Linked DNA regions of Homo sapiens: region 1 is linked to region 2. The links are contacts of gene promoters, found by promoter capture Hi-C in human tissues and cell types (Jung and others, 2019). All regions are on one chromosome and are shown on one strand. Each heading gives the region's core, a stretch centred on a gene start or on the middle of the fragment in contact. The rest is flanking DNA. Distances are from core to core; before and after follow the strand shown. Region 1 overlaps TMEM242 (transmembrane protein 242). Region 2 holds the start of SNX9 (sorting nexin 9).

Region 1 (7,124 bases), core at 4,515-7,014, 500 kb before region 2:
GTGCGCTCACCCGGCCTCATCATTGTGTCCCAGTGTGCGCTCACCCGGCCTCATCATAGTGTCCCTGTGTGCGCTCACCCGGCCTCATCATAGTGTCCCAGTGTGCGCTCACCTGGCCTCATCATAGTGCCCCAGTGTGCACTCACCTGGCCTCATCATAGTGTCCCAGTGTGCGCTCACCTGGCCTCATCATAGTGTCGCAGTGTGCACTCACCTGGCCTCATCATAGTGTCCCAGTGTGCACTCACCTGGCCTCATCATAGTGTCCCAGCATGCATTCCCATGATCATGTACACAGCTGATTTAGGAGACTACAAACCCAAAGTAAATGTTCATCTTTTTTTCCAGAATTAAGTTATTGTGATAAAATTGGTGCTATCTTAATTATAATCAAATAATAAAATACCATAGTTGAAAGTAATCGATGAACACAAACTGAACAGTCAAGCCGTGCTTGTTGGCCAGGGTGGGCCGGGGAGCAGGGTAGATACTGAACTGGCACTGATTTCTCCCCATTGTCAATGCTGGGCAAACTTACCTGCCTTGGTCTAACAAGACATCTTCTGCTACCTCTCCTTCTTTAGATCCTCTGGTTAAATGATATAACAGTGTGTAAAATACACATGTGTTTATATTTAATGTTATTATATGCATTCTATGTGAAATGAAATTCCAGAATAATTATGAATAAACAAACAGTAAAACCAAAATACTTTAAAGAAACCGAAGTTTCACTTTAAGCATTTTAAACATGTTCCCTTTTAGGCCAGCAGATGTAGCTGCGAATTAAAATAGGAACCGCAAGCACTTTCATCAAGCTGCTCTAGGTTAACCATTAGATGGCACCCTTTTGTATTGGAACTGGGTTTCTATCAGAGATTCAATTCAATTCGAGCTAGCTACTTACAATTATTTAACGCTGGAGTTGATTTTATCTAGAATGATCATCTCAGTTATTTATTGAGTGCATAGACTTGGACCATTTCTGTTTAACATTTTCTGACTGAGACTGTTTTCTTAGTCATACAAAGATGAGACAGTACACAGTGACAGAAGTTCTTACTGGACTCAGGGTAACCTCATAATTATCAAAACTCTCTAAACGTTGAGCTGAATATACCACATTGCTGTCTGCAAGCCTCAGAGCAGGGTCATACCATAAGAATTTGCTTAGAAAGTCAACAGGTAAGGTTTACCCCTTTACAGGGTAGCGCTGTCTTAGCACAGTGCTTGGCTCAGGAGAGACCCACAAATGACTTTAGAATGAACAAACCAGCAAATTAGTAAACACTACCGCCTTTAAAAGATATGACCTTGAAAAGGTATCAGTGAGTTCATTTTTCTGTGGGCCTTCTCAAACATGGAGATCAAACTGATATGCCTAATGATCTATATGCAGAGAGAGTGCATATGCAGTCTCTCTTTTTACTTAGACATAAAGATGTCAGGAACTCTCTTTCTTTGTGGTCCCAGCACCTAACCCAATCCCAGGTACCCAGCAGAGGCTGAGTAGATATTTCCTACTTATCACTGGATGACATAAAGATGCAATATAAAAGGATTCCACATATTCTTATATTCAGTAGTGCCAACCAGAAAATATTTTTTCTCCCCAAAATATCTTATTTAGGCAGCAATCCTTGTATCAATGCCAAAAAACAAAGAAGTTCACATTCTACCCATCTTCAGTGCTGGGCAAACGTATCTGCTTTGTTTGGTAACAAGATAGCTCCCAATACCTCTCCTTCTTTGGAACCTCTGATTAAATGATATACCACTGTGTGAAATAGAAATGTATGTTTGTATTTAATGTATGTGTTCTATGTGAAATGAAATTCCATAATAATTATGAATAAAAAATTGGATTATTCTAGCACAGTTGGATTATTCTAGCCCATAAACACTGAATTATCAAGTGTATAATTTAGATAACCTAATTTTGTTGGTTTATGAAAACTGGGATTGACTCTTCTAAGTGAGACTATTTGTATTTTCAAATACCTTAAAATTTTACTAAGTTTGTGACCCACATTACTAAACACTGGAAACATCACATATCAGTTCCACACAGTTCATGTAAAGTGCTAGCAGACTGTCATTTTTATAGAAACTAGAAGCTTAATAACTTTATTACTAAGTACTACTTAATAATCTGAAGATTCAGACCTGGGTTTAAATCTTGACACTGCCAATCACATGTTATGTCATCTTGGGCAAGTGATTTAACCTCTTTGAGCCCCAATTTCCTCATTTATAAAATGGGGGATATTAATATCTGCTAGATAGTTATTATGAAGATTAAATAATCTGCTATGTCTAAAATGTCTGTAGAATGCCTAAAATGGAAGAAGAGATTTTATATTGGTCGAAAGCAAAATTGAGGTTAACAGCAAAAATCATGAAAAATCTTCAGTCACAGGTTTTCTGTCTTTTCAAGCAATCTCTAATTTAGCATTACAAACAATGATTAGCCAGCAAAGTTAACTCAAAAATCAAGGTGAGGGCCAGGTGCAGTGGCTCACACCTTTAATCCCAGCACTTCGGGAGGCTGAGGCAGAAGATCGCTTGAGTCCAGGAGTTCGCAACCAGCCTGGGCAACATAATGAGACCTCATCTCTACAAAAAATAAAAAAAATGAGCCAGGCATAGTGACATGCATCTGTGGTCCCAGCTACACAGGAGGCTGAGGTGGGAAGGTTGCTCGAGCCCAGGAGGCTGCAGTGAGCTGAGGTCACACCACTGCACTCCATCCTGGGTGACAGAGGAAGACCTTGTCTCCAAAGAGTCGAAAATAAAAATAAATTTTAAAAACAAAGGTTAGACTAGGAGAAAAGCACCATCATCTGTCTATCAGTGTATTCTGAGTGGAAAGCACAGTAATGTTTATGTTTGTTTACGATTAAACTAAATATGAAAAGCTCAATAATGTCTATGAGGTTGTTCCTGCAACCCTGCCAACTTGCCCCAGTTTCTTCCTCCCTGCTGAATCATTCCCATCAGCATATACATGCTGTTAATTCTCCCAATGTAAAATATAACAAGTAAAAACTTATCTCTTGATCCCATTCTTTTTTCCAGCTATGACCCCATTTCCTTCCTTCACTTTGTGGCAAAACTCAAGACTCACCTAGATATACTGCCTCTGATTCTCCTCTATTCTCTTTTGAATCACTCAGGCTTCACTCCACCATTTCACCAATGGCTGTCACACTGCCAAACCGGGTGAATCATCAGTCCTCATCTTACGTAACTTATCACCAGCATACAACACAGTCAGTCACTTCTCCTTGAAGTGTTTTCTTCACCGGGTGTCCAAGTCACCAGGCCAAGGAGATTTCCCTCTTCAGTAGGGTACTTTCCCCTCATTCCCCAACCTCTTAACATTAGGAGTCCCCAAGAGTTCCTTCCTCAGACCTCTTCTCTTTTCTTTCAACCTTCACTGCCTTGGTGAGTTAATCTAGTCTCACAGCTTTAAATGCTAGCCATATACTGATGAGTCTCAAATTCAAATCTTCACCTTGTACTTCTCCCCTAACTCTCAACTTCTATATCTAACTGCTTACTTGCTCTCCATCTCACTATCAAACGGATGTGTCAACCTCACAAGTCAGATTGAGCTCCTGACATTATCTCCCAATACCTCCTTTTCTCACACTGCTCCCCACCCATCCTTCAGTTGCTCAGGCCAAAAGTCTTGATGACATCCAACTTCACTCTTTCTCACACCCCACATCCAATCAACAACAAATCTTTGCTGACTTGACCTTCAAAATATATCGACATCTGTTTTCATCAACTTTACCGCTGCCACCTATCTCAAACTACTGCCAATTCTCACCAGTCACGAAGGGTCCGGTCCACAGAACTTCCAACCAGTTGTTTAAAAAAAGAAGGCAGTCATTCTTAATGTAATGCTCTGTAGCTTGAAGTATAAATTTTACATATATACACAAACACAGACACAGACACACAAGATTTTAGGATTTTTTCCAAAAATGTGTAAATAACACATTAGTAATTTAAATAATTAATTTTAAAATGCTTTAACTTTTACAAAGATTATATATATATGTCAAACAGCAATAGAAAGTTGTTCCAAATTAATAATTTTATTGAACAAATCGCTAATGTCAATTTGTTTATTTATTCTACTTTGTTTTTGAGACAGGGTCTTACCCCGCTGCCAAGGCTGAAGCGCAATGATCTTGGCACACTGCAGCCTCAGCCTGTGAGGCTCAGGTGATCCTCCTCCCTCAGCCTTCTGAGTAGCTAGGACTATAGGCGCATGCCACCACACCCAGCTAATTTTTTTATAGAGACAGGGTTTCTTTACATTGCCCAGGCTGGTTTTGGACTTCAGAGCTCAAGTGATTTGCCTGCCGCAGGCTCCCAAGGTGCTGGGATTACAGGCATAACCCACTGCACTCGCCCTAATGTCAATTTATATAGAACATTAGCTATAAATTAGTCATTACTTAATTATATTTGAAGTTTTACCACCTTCAAAAATTGTATTTATTAGTAATAAGAAGTTGTCTAGTTATTTGTAAGAATTTAGTCACGTACTCTGTCATCATCTCCCTAGACAGTGACCAAACTACATGCAAATAAATTTGAAAACCAGAAAAATTTAGAACACAGTAAGCAGAATAAACATGTAGATACCAGGGACAAGACAGTAGTTACTTACACTGTGAACTCCTAAAGCTTTCCAGACTGCGAAGCTAATCACACCAACCCCACACCATGCATACAGGGAGCCCCAGCCCAGAGCTCGCAAGGCAAGGGAAGACCCGCTTTCCGGTAATGCAGCCGTGGCCATACTTCCCTGAAATGAAACAGAAAAGTTGAGGTAAAAACAATCAGTGCAGAAAGAATAAGCATTCTGGGGGTGTTTGCAAATTCCTCTCTGTGCAAACAACATGATATTAGGAAGCTAAATCAACCCAAGGTCTAATTCTGGCTTTGCTACTTAATAATTGCATGCCTTCTCTGACTCACAGATATTTGAGTATGCAAGGCACCTTGCCTGTTAATTCTTCCAGAAAAATCCTAGACCATTTTGTCAAGATTTCTCTATCCCCCATTCATTGGCATTTTCACAGAATGACATTAAAGTGGTATTAAAATAACTCAGTTATTTTATGAATGTTTTTCCTGCCATAATATTAAGATGAGCAAGGGCACCAGATATTTCAGATAAGTAAACTTTGCATGTGTGTAAACATTATGTACTTTCTTCAGTTATTTTAACCAAATAGACATATAATACATGTTATTTTCTCTCATAGCACCTCATTTAGTCTACCGATTATGAGACTGATGTATAAATGCAGGATAGACTAGTTAACAAAAATGTTGATCTATTTTAATAGATCGACCAAAGAAGCTCAAGAGTAAATTACTTCGCCACTTTTAGCTTGCACCTTCCTCTTTCTGTTTATTCAGGGAACTACAAAGAAAAATGAATGTCCATTCAGCATCTATTATTGCTTTTCAACTCCCAGTTGTTTTGCATGACACACAGCTAAGAAAATGAGAACAGGACATTAAAAGGATAACTATCATCCCAAAATAAAAGCAGTGTAGGCAGTCCCCAACTGAAAAGTTTATCATTTTAATGTCCTCTGGGGTTGCAATTTGAATCTGTTTTAATACCTAGAATCCCAGGCTAATGGATAGAAGTCTGTTTAAATAGCAAGATTACTAAAAATTGTATCATTTCTTCCCTAGAAGTATCCCAAGATGGGAAGAGTACCATGTTGGGCAAGTTGCTTAATTCATCTGTGCCTCAGTTTCCTGCCCTTTAATGGGGACCACACATAACGGTGCTGCATAGGGTGTGAGGAGAGTTCAATGAGTCAAGCCCGCAGAAGAACAGCCAGCACATGCTAAGCACTCAAATATTAGATATTATCAATGTTAGAAAAGACCTCCAGGTGGCAACTGTGAAGTGCACTGACTAAGTGAGATTCTTAGACTGGTGCTTGCTCAGTATAAACGCATTAACTGTGTGCTCCAAAATCTCTGAGTTCTTCTACAAACAATTTTACCTCTGAAACAGAGTCTGGGTAAGTGGTCATACTCTAATTCCAGTGTTTTCCCAGAGGGAGACAGAACCATCTAAAACAGGGGTTCTCAAACTACCTGGTCTCAGGATCCCTTTACACTTGGGCCCTAAAGACTTTCAATTAAGTGGGTTGTATTTATCAATATTTAATGTATTAGAAATTAAAACTATGAAATTCTTAAATTATATTAGTCATTTAAAAATAGTAAATCATTTTAGATTAATATAAGCCTATTTTTTATGAAAAATTACTTTTCCAAAACAAAACTGTGCAAAGAGAGACAATGTTTTACATTTTTGTTAGTCTTTTATTTATTTATATTTTTTGAGATGGAGTCTCGCTCTGTCACCCAGGCTGGAGTGTAGTGGCGTGATCTCAGCTCACTGCAACCTCCACCTTCCAGGTTCAAGCAATTCTTGTGCCTCAGCCTCCCAAGTAGCTGGGATTACAGGTGCATGCCACCATGCCCAGCTAATTTTTGTATTTTTAGTAGAGATGGGGTTTCACCGTGTTGCCCAGGCTGGTCTCAAACTCCTGGCCTAAAGTGATCCGCCTCCCTCAGCCTCCCAAAGTGCTGGGATAAAAGTTTTCTAAAATCTAATTTTCACTTGAAAGCTTGAATTTTATCAGTGGCAATAAATACTGACAATTGTTTGCTTGAAAAGACAAGCTCATTTTATTCATTGTTAAGATGTCTGCCAAATATTCTTTCAAGTAAAAATGATATTCTATAGGAAAAAAGTGGCTAGTTCAGCTTGCAATTCAATTGCTTTTCTAGAGAAAAAATCCTACTTCAGTATAAAATAGAAATGCTTTATGTATTTATTTCCCATTTCTTTTTTTTTTTTTCTTTTTTTTTTTTTTGAGACGGAGTCTCGCTCTGTCACCCAGGCTGGAGTGCAGTGGCGAAATCTCGGCTTACTGCAAGCTCCGCCTCCCGGGTTCACGCCATTCTCCTGCCTCAGCCTCCCGAGTAGCTGGGACTACAGGCACCCGCCACCCGCCCAGTTAATTCTTTTGTATTTTTAGTAGAGACGGGGTTTCATCGTGTTA
Region 2 (6,521 bases), core at 3,473-5,972:
GAGCAATGACACATGAACTAGCAAAATGTCCTATATCCACTGTTACTTCTTTGTGCCCAATCACTGAATGCCAGTACGTCTCCAAGGACTCACGCCAGCCTGTCCTTAACAGGTCAAAGAATTAAAACAATATCCTAGGGCAAAGTTTCATGAGACACCAGGGATCCTACAGGCTGGGACTTCATTTGGGAAGCCAACTGGTGAGCCAATCTTCTCTTGCTGCCCTCACCTCACAGCTCAGTCCTTCTGGGAGTCGGAACTACCCAAACTCAGCAAACAGTCTAGTATAGAACCTTGAGCAAACGGTTCCTGTTCCAGCCTAACACCGCCTGCTGCTGCCACCTCTGCCATCCATGCAGCCTCCCTAGCCTCCAGTCTCTCTCTGCCCATGCCAACTGTCCCTTCCTGGACTGCTCAGGTCCTAGCAGTCAGATTTCTGCTCAATTTCTAGTTCTGGACACTATGTCCCGTTACTGTTTACGGCTCTGTGTCTCCCAGACGATGGAGAAAGAAATGTGACTTAGTCAAAATGGAACAAAAATGAAAACCAACCAATCAGCTAACCAACTAAAACAAACATAATTTTAAAACCATACACTTTTCATACATACATTCAGCTAGTCTAATGCCAAGGGGAAACCTTATAGGAAAAAACCTCTCCTGCTTCTCTTTATTCCTATAAAGATTCTTCAGAGCACTTATAAAAGCACCTGGCACATTAGACATTTATTTGTAGTTTATTGACTTCCCCCACCCTCTACAGATTGTTAAGTTCTAAGAGAGCAGGGACTTTTGTCTCCCTCACCTGTAACAGCATCCAGTCCAAGGTGAGGACGTCATACGTTTATTAGGATTGGAATGGCACCAGCTGCACTCCTTTCCACGTTTATTTTCAAGGTCACCCCAAGGTTTTCTTTAACCTCATTAAATTCATGCCCTAAAGTGAGAGGAGGTATCCCCTTGTGCCAGACCCAGGCTGACTCTGTATTGTTACACATTATTCTCATCCTCCGATCCTTACATTAGGTGACCATCACACATTTTCACTCCGTTCCACATTAGTTCCCATAGTTGCACTTTCCCATGCTAGTTTCCCATTAGTTGACCAAGCATTTAGTTGGGCTCTGAGCTCTTAAAAACCAAAGGAGAATCTAATTTTGAATAAAAACACCTGGCCATACTGAACAAACGCAGGGAAGAGGTGGTGGTCATTATTTTCCTGTCCCCCCAGCTGTGTGGCTGGACGAAGCTTCCTGTGAATCCTAATCACTTTACCTCCTGTGGCATGATTCAAAAAAAAAAAAAAAAAAAGCAGCTAGAGTACAAAGCCTAAACAGAGTGGCTCTGTTGCTCTGCCTCCAGGTCTTTTTCTTTTGAAAGTGCAATCTAGTAATAACCAAACGCAGTCTGCAAATGCAAATCCAATTGCTTAACTAATTGTGTTCTCACCCCTGGAGTAATGGAAGTTCATGCTGTAGAAGAAAATCTGAACTTAGCATGGCCCAGGGTTCTGGGTTCTGGGTTCTAAAGGCAGGCCTGCGTAGAGAATCAACTCTAAGGAAGCTCGCTCAAAGGACGGAGGTGGACAGAAGAGAGATATGCATGGTTGATCAAGTGGGAGCAGAAGACAAACGCCACCACCGGGTGCAGTGGCTCACGACTGTAATCCCAGCACTTTGGGAGGCTGAGGCAGACGGATCACTTAGGATAAGGAGTTTGAGACCAGCCTGGCCAACGTGGCAAAACCCTGTCTCTACTAAAAATAAAAAATAAAAAATAAAAAAAAACTTAGCCAGGCATGGTGGCAGGTGCCCGTAATCCCAGCTACTGCGGAGGCTGAGGCAGGAGAATCACTTGAACCTGGGAGGCGGAGGCTGCAGTGAGCCGAGATTGGGCCACTGCACTCCAGCCTGGGTGACAGAACAAGACCCAGTCTCTCTCTCTATATACAAATATATTCTATGAAAGTGGGTCTCCTCTATAACATTCATGAAGTAATGTTGATTTTGACTGACGTATATAAAAATAAAACTCCTAAGTTTAGCAGTATTTACTGGAGATATACTACCCAATTCATTACTAAAAATGTGAAAAAGATTTTAGTTATGTTCAAGATCCCTTCGGTGTGGCTTATTGTGAAAGTGCACATGTTTATCTCTTTTTTTTTTTTTTTTTTTTTGAGTCGGAGTCTTGCCCAGGCTGGAGTGCAGTGGCTCGATCTCGGCCCACTGCAACCTCCGCCTTCCGGGTTCAAGTGATTCTCCTGCCTCAGCCTCCTGAGTAGCTGGGACTACAGGCGCGTGCCACCATGCCCAGCTAATTTTTGTATTTTTAGTAGAGACGGGGTTTCACCATGTTGGCCAGGATGGTTTCGATCTCTTCACCTCGTGACCCGCCCGCCGCAGCCTCCCAAAGTGCTGGGATTACAGGCGTGAGCCACAGCGCCCGGCCATGTTTATCTCTGTTTATGTACTTTTTCATTTGTTTTTCACAGTCTTGCTCTTTTTAAAACAACAACAACAACAAAAAACTTCTAGAAATGAGGTCTCACTATGTTGCCCAGGCTGGTGTTGAACACCTGGGCTTAAGCAATCCTTCCACCTTAGCCCTCCACCATTACTTCTAAAAAATAAAACCAGGGTTATGAAATTGTTCTGGTGGGAAAAGCTTGAAGTCTCTAGTCTTCTTGCTTTCATGGTGCTGGGTGCCCAGGATGACTATTTGCATAGGATTTGCCAGATGAGCATGTGGAAAGGCCTGTCTTCACAGGTGTGCCCCTAACTTTGCACCTTCCTATCAAGGGATGCATTGTTGAACGGCTGCAGAGAGAGCTGTACCCAGCCTTCACATTTAAAAGAATATGGAAAACTCATTACTTATGACATTGCCTGAGTTCAAATCCTGGCTTTTCCACATACTAGTGTGTGCTCTTAGCCAAGTTATTTCTTCCATTGTTTATTAAAATATAACTGCTGTTTTTAAATGAAGTCATATATACACATGGTCAAAAACTCTGACAACAGGATCTGGCGAATCTTTCTCAGAAATTTTCTAGGAATGTGTCACATATTTCCTTTTTTTTTTTTTTTTTACATAAATGTACCATACATAATGTTCTTTTTATCTTTCTTAACACCTCTTAGAATATTATCATTTTCTTACGGGCTTCCTAGTATTTTTGTTTGAATGGATGTATCTTATTTACTGAAACAGTCCTGTTAACAAACACATAGGTTGCTTTCTGGTTGGAGTTATTACAGAACAATCTTTGATGAACATCTTTGAACACTTGTACAAGTGTTTGACAGGATAAATTCCCAGGAGGGCTGCTGGGTCCAAGGCTACGGTCATTTTCGATTTGAATAAGTATTACCAAATGGGCAAGTTATTTAAGTGATCCCTGAGTCGCTCTTCTTTGTAAACAGTGGACAATAATGAGTTTCTCAAATGTTTCTTATAAGGATTAAATGAGATGGGGATGTGGAAGCCTAGTATACAGCAAGCAGGCCGTCAATGAATGTTGGCCTCCCAATATTTTTTTTTACGGAGAAAGACAACTATTTATGCATATTATGATGACTATAGCTTAACCATGAGCTCAACAAACACAAAAATTCACAGAAAATTCTGCAATACCGTATCTATTTTAAACCCCATTATTGAATATAACTAGTGAAATCTCAGGTCAAATAGAATGTATTTAAGAAGACACAAACTTGACATTAAACACCAGAGATTTACATTTGATAGTTGTCTCTTCTTACAAATATATCCCTCATAATAATAAAAAAGCACTCCACTAGTATGCCAATTAAGACACATCTTCCAGTCGTGTTTTGTCCTTGAGTGAAAAATCTTGCTGCTCAATTCAAGTCATTCGTTTATTCATAACACCCATATATATATCTCCAACTCTGGAAAGAAACACTGACAGAAAGATGGAAAATTTTAGAGACCTCGTTTCCACTTCAGAGAGCCTGTTGTCCCCCAAACCTCTCGGGCCCTCCGGTATTTTTAAGCTTATCAAGATTCCAGAATGAGGTTAACGGGGCGTCACAGAACGAAACCCCCCACCGTCCCGTCCCAGGGGCTTCAAGCCAGGACCCCGGCCTGAGGGAGCCTCCGGGCAGGAGGAAGAGGCCCAGGAAGCCATCGCTCCGCTCCTTCCCAGCTGTTTATGTGGTACTCAGGGTACTCGGCCAAGGGCACGGCGACCCCGCAACACCCCAGGCGTGGGGCAAAGACAGCGGGGTTGCGGGGCTCCTGTCTGCCCGGGGCGTCGAGAGTTCCTGCCGCCCCCTCCCGCCTCATGCACGGAAAGCGCCGAGCCACGGCGTGCGGCGCCGGCCGAGCGTGAACCGGAGTCGGGGTTCGGCTACCCCGAGCGGCTCTGTGGGCCGCGGATCGCTTCCCCTGGGGCGGCCACGCAGGGTTGCGGGCCATGGCCTGGGGCGCCCGTCCGGACCCCGCCGCTGCGCGGGACGCCGCTCCCAGCCTCGACCAAGGGCGCCCGGGGGCGGCGGCGGCGGCGGCGGCGGTGACTGCCCGGGGCGGCGGCGCGGCGCGGGGGCGGCCAGGAGGCGAGGAGGCCGGGCCGCGGCCGAGGGCCCAGGGCGCGCTTCCGGCGGGCGTCGCGCGCGCCGCGGTAAATGGGAGGCTCGGCCGACAGGGGCGGGGGCCGCGCAGCCGGGGACTTTCAGGAACTGCAGGAGCGTGCGGCGCGGGAGTAGCCGAGCGCCCAGCGGCTGGGCCTGAGCGTCGAGACTCGGGGCCGAGGCGGAGGAGCGGCCGCCGCGCCGGGGCCCAGCCGGAGCCGCCGCCCTCGCCCTTGCCTTTGCCTGCGCGGCTCAGAATCACCATCCGCGGCGCGGGAGACGAGCCGGCCGTCCCGGGCCGGGGGACCCGCCCGCCATGGCCACCAAGGTGAGGGGCGCGCGGCGCAGGCCGGGCCGGTCGCTCAGGCCCGGGGCGGCGCGGAGAGGGTCGGGGCCGGGGCCGCGGGGAGGGTCGGGGCCAGGGGTGGTCGAGGGGCCACTCCGCTTCCTCGGTGGAGTCCCCGGGCGGGTCCGCGGCCCAGCCAGTCCCTTCTGGGCATGGGTGCGGCGGGCAGTGCAGACAGACCACCAGGATCGCACCGGGGGACGGCGTCGGGTCTGGGCGCGGGTTGGGACCCCGGGCGCAGCGAGGTTTGGGAAGTTTGCACCTGAGCGTGGGCTGCGGCGGGCTCGCCGGGAGGGGCCGCGGGACGGAAACTTCCCGCAGCCCGGGGAGGCCCCCGAGGCGACTGGCGCTCTGTGGCGTCCGGCGTCCCCGCCGCCCCCACGTCCCCTCCCGCTGCCGCCTGGGGGACCCTCGCCCCCGCGGGGCGGGTGGGGGTCGAGACCTCGGCGGAGAGGACGCGGCGCTTCCCGTCCCGGCCTGCGGGGGCTCGCGGCCGGGGAGGGACCGAGGCTGGGACGCCCCGCGCCCCTTTGCCTTCGCTGCTGTTATTTTTTTCTTTTGTTTTGCTACCTTTTCATTGTGAATGGCATTGCCGGCATGAATAAAATATCAAGAGGGAAATGACTGTGCTTTCGATTACGTGTTTGCCTGAAAAAAGGCCCAGGCCCGAATTACGTGGTGGAACTTTGACTCCTGCTTCGTCATTGGCTAGGAGCGGTGGTTTGCTTGTTTTACGTTATTGTTTATGAAATTAGCAGTCACTCTTGGCTACCTGAATTTTCAAAAGCCACCCTCCCCCGCTCCTTTTCCTTGGGCGTTTTCAGTAGTTACTTGATGTAGAATAGCCACTGGGGAAGTCACGGTCACGGAAGGGAGGACCTGGGGGAGGAGGCTCTATACCTGAGCCATTAACTGATCTGTGATACACTGTGAGGAGTGGGTTTACTTTTGCACTTAGTTTTTGTAATGTCACTTTGTTAGCATCAGCACCCCTTTGTCTATTTGTTTTTGAGATCTCTGAGCTACTTTTGGGTTGCTAGAAACGTTATTTTTTATTTTTCGATAGGTGTTTGCTTTTTTTGTGGAGTGTTAAGGTAGAAAATGGTAAGAAATGTGAAATCTCTTTGAAAGATCAGCATTGCTTGACTTCGGTCTGCTAGATGTTGTGCTGTGGTAAATTTTGTGCTCTGAATCCATCTAGGTGCAGCGTTTGTAGAGAAATGGGGATTCTCCTCCAGGGAACCTGTTGCTGCTGTTACTGAAATAATTACCTTCTTGTTAATATATTATTGCCTGTGCTGTGCTTTGGTTTTATTAATGCGATAGAACTTGCCACCTTTTTAACGTATTAATTTTGTGTTGACCTTTTTAAAAATAAAACTTAGGCCAAGGATTTCTAAGGAAATTTGATTTTGAGGTTTGTTGCCAGACATTCCAGAAATTACCAGTTACACATCCTAGTACATGCTCATCTTGCAACCTTAAAAGCGGTTTATAGGCCGGGCGCGGTGGCTCACTCCCACCTGTAATTCCAGCACTTTGGGAGGCCGCGGTGGGTGGTTCACCTGAGGTCGGGAGCT

What was found. The method cuts DNA at HindIII sites, captures the fragments that hold promoters and counts their contacts. A contact is called where the count stands out against the background at its distance.
Region 1: a contact is called between a fragment that was not itself captured here and the fragment with the promoter of SNX9 in region 2, in 1 of the 25 tissues and cell types used here (hippocampus).

What each region holds. Positions count from the first base shown.
Region 1 is chr6:157,314,092-157,321,215 of GRCh38, forward strand. It overlaps TMEM242 (transmembrane protein 242), which reads right to left. Exons shown (of 4, transcript NM_018452.6): 3 at 4,691-4,828. Among named protein-coding and RNA genes, the nearest start is that of TMEM242, 5.9 kb to the right of the region's middle. RefSeq lists an enhancer at 1-522. The HindIII fragment of the contact is 4,705 bases long and covers 3,413-7,124 here.
Region 2 is chr6:157,818,524-157,825,044 of GRCh38, forward strand. SNX9 (sorting nexin 9) reads left to right here and starts at 4,723. Exons shown (of 18, transcript NM_016224.5): 1 at 4,723-4,923. The coding sequence starts at 4,912. RefSeq lists a silencer at 4,532-4,851 and an enhancer at 5,502-5,551. The HindIII fragment of the contact is 8,295 bases long and covers 3,344-6,521 here.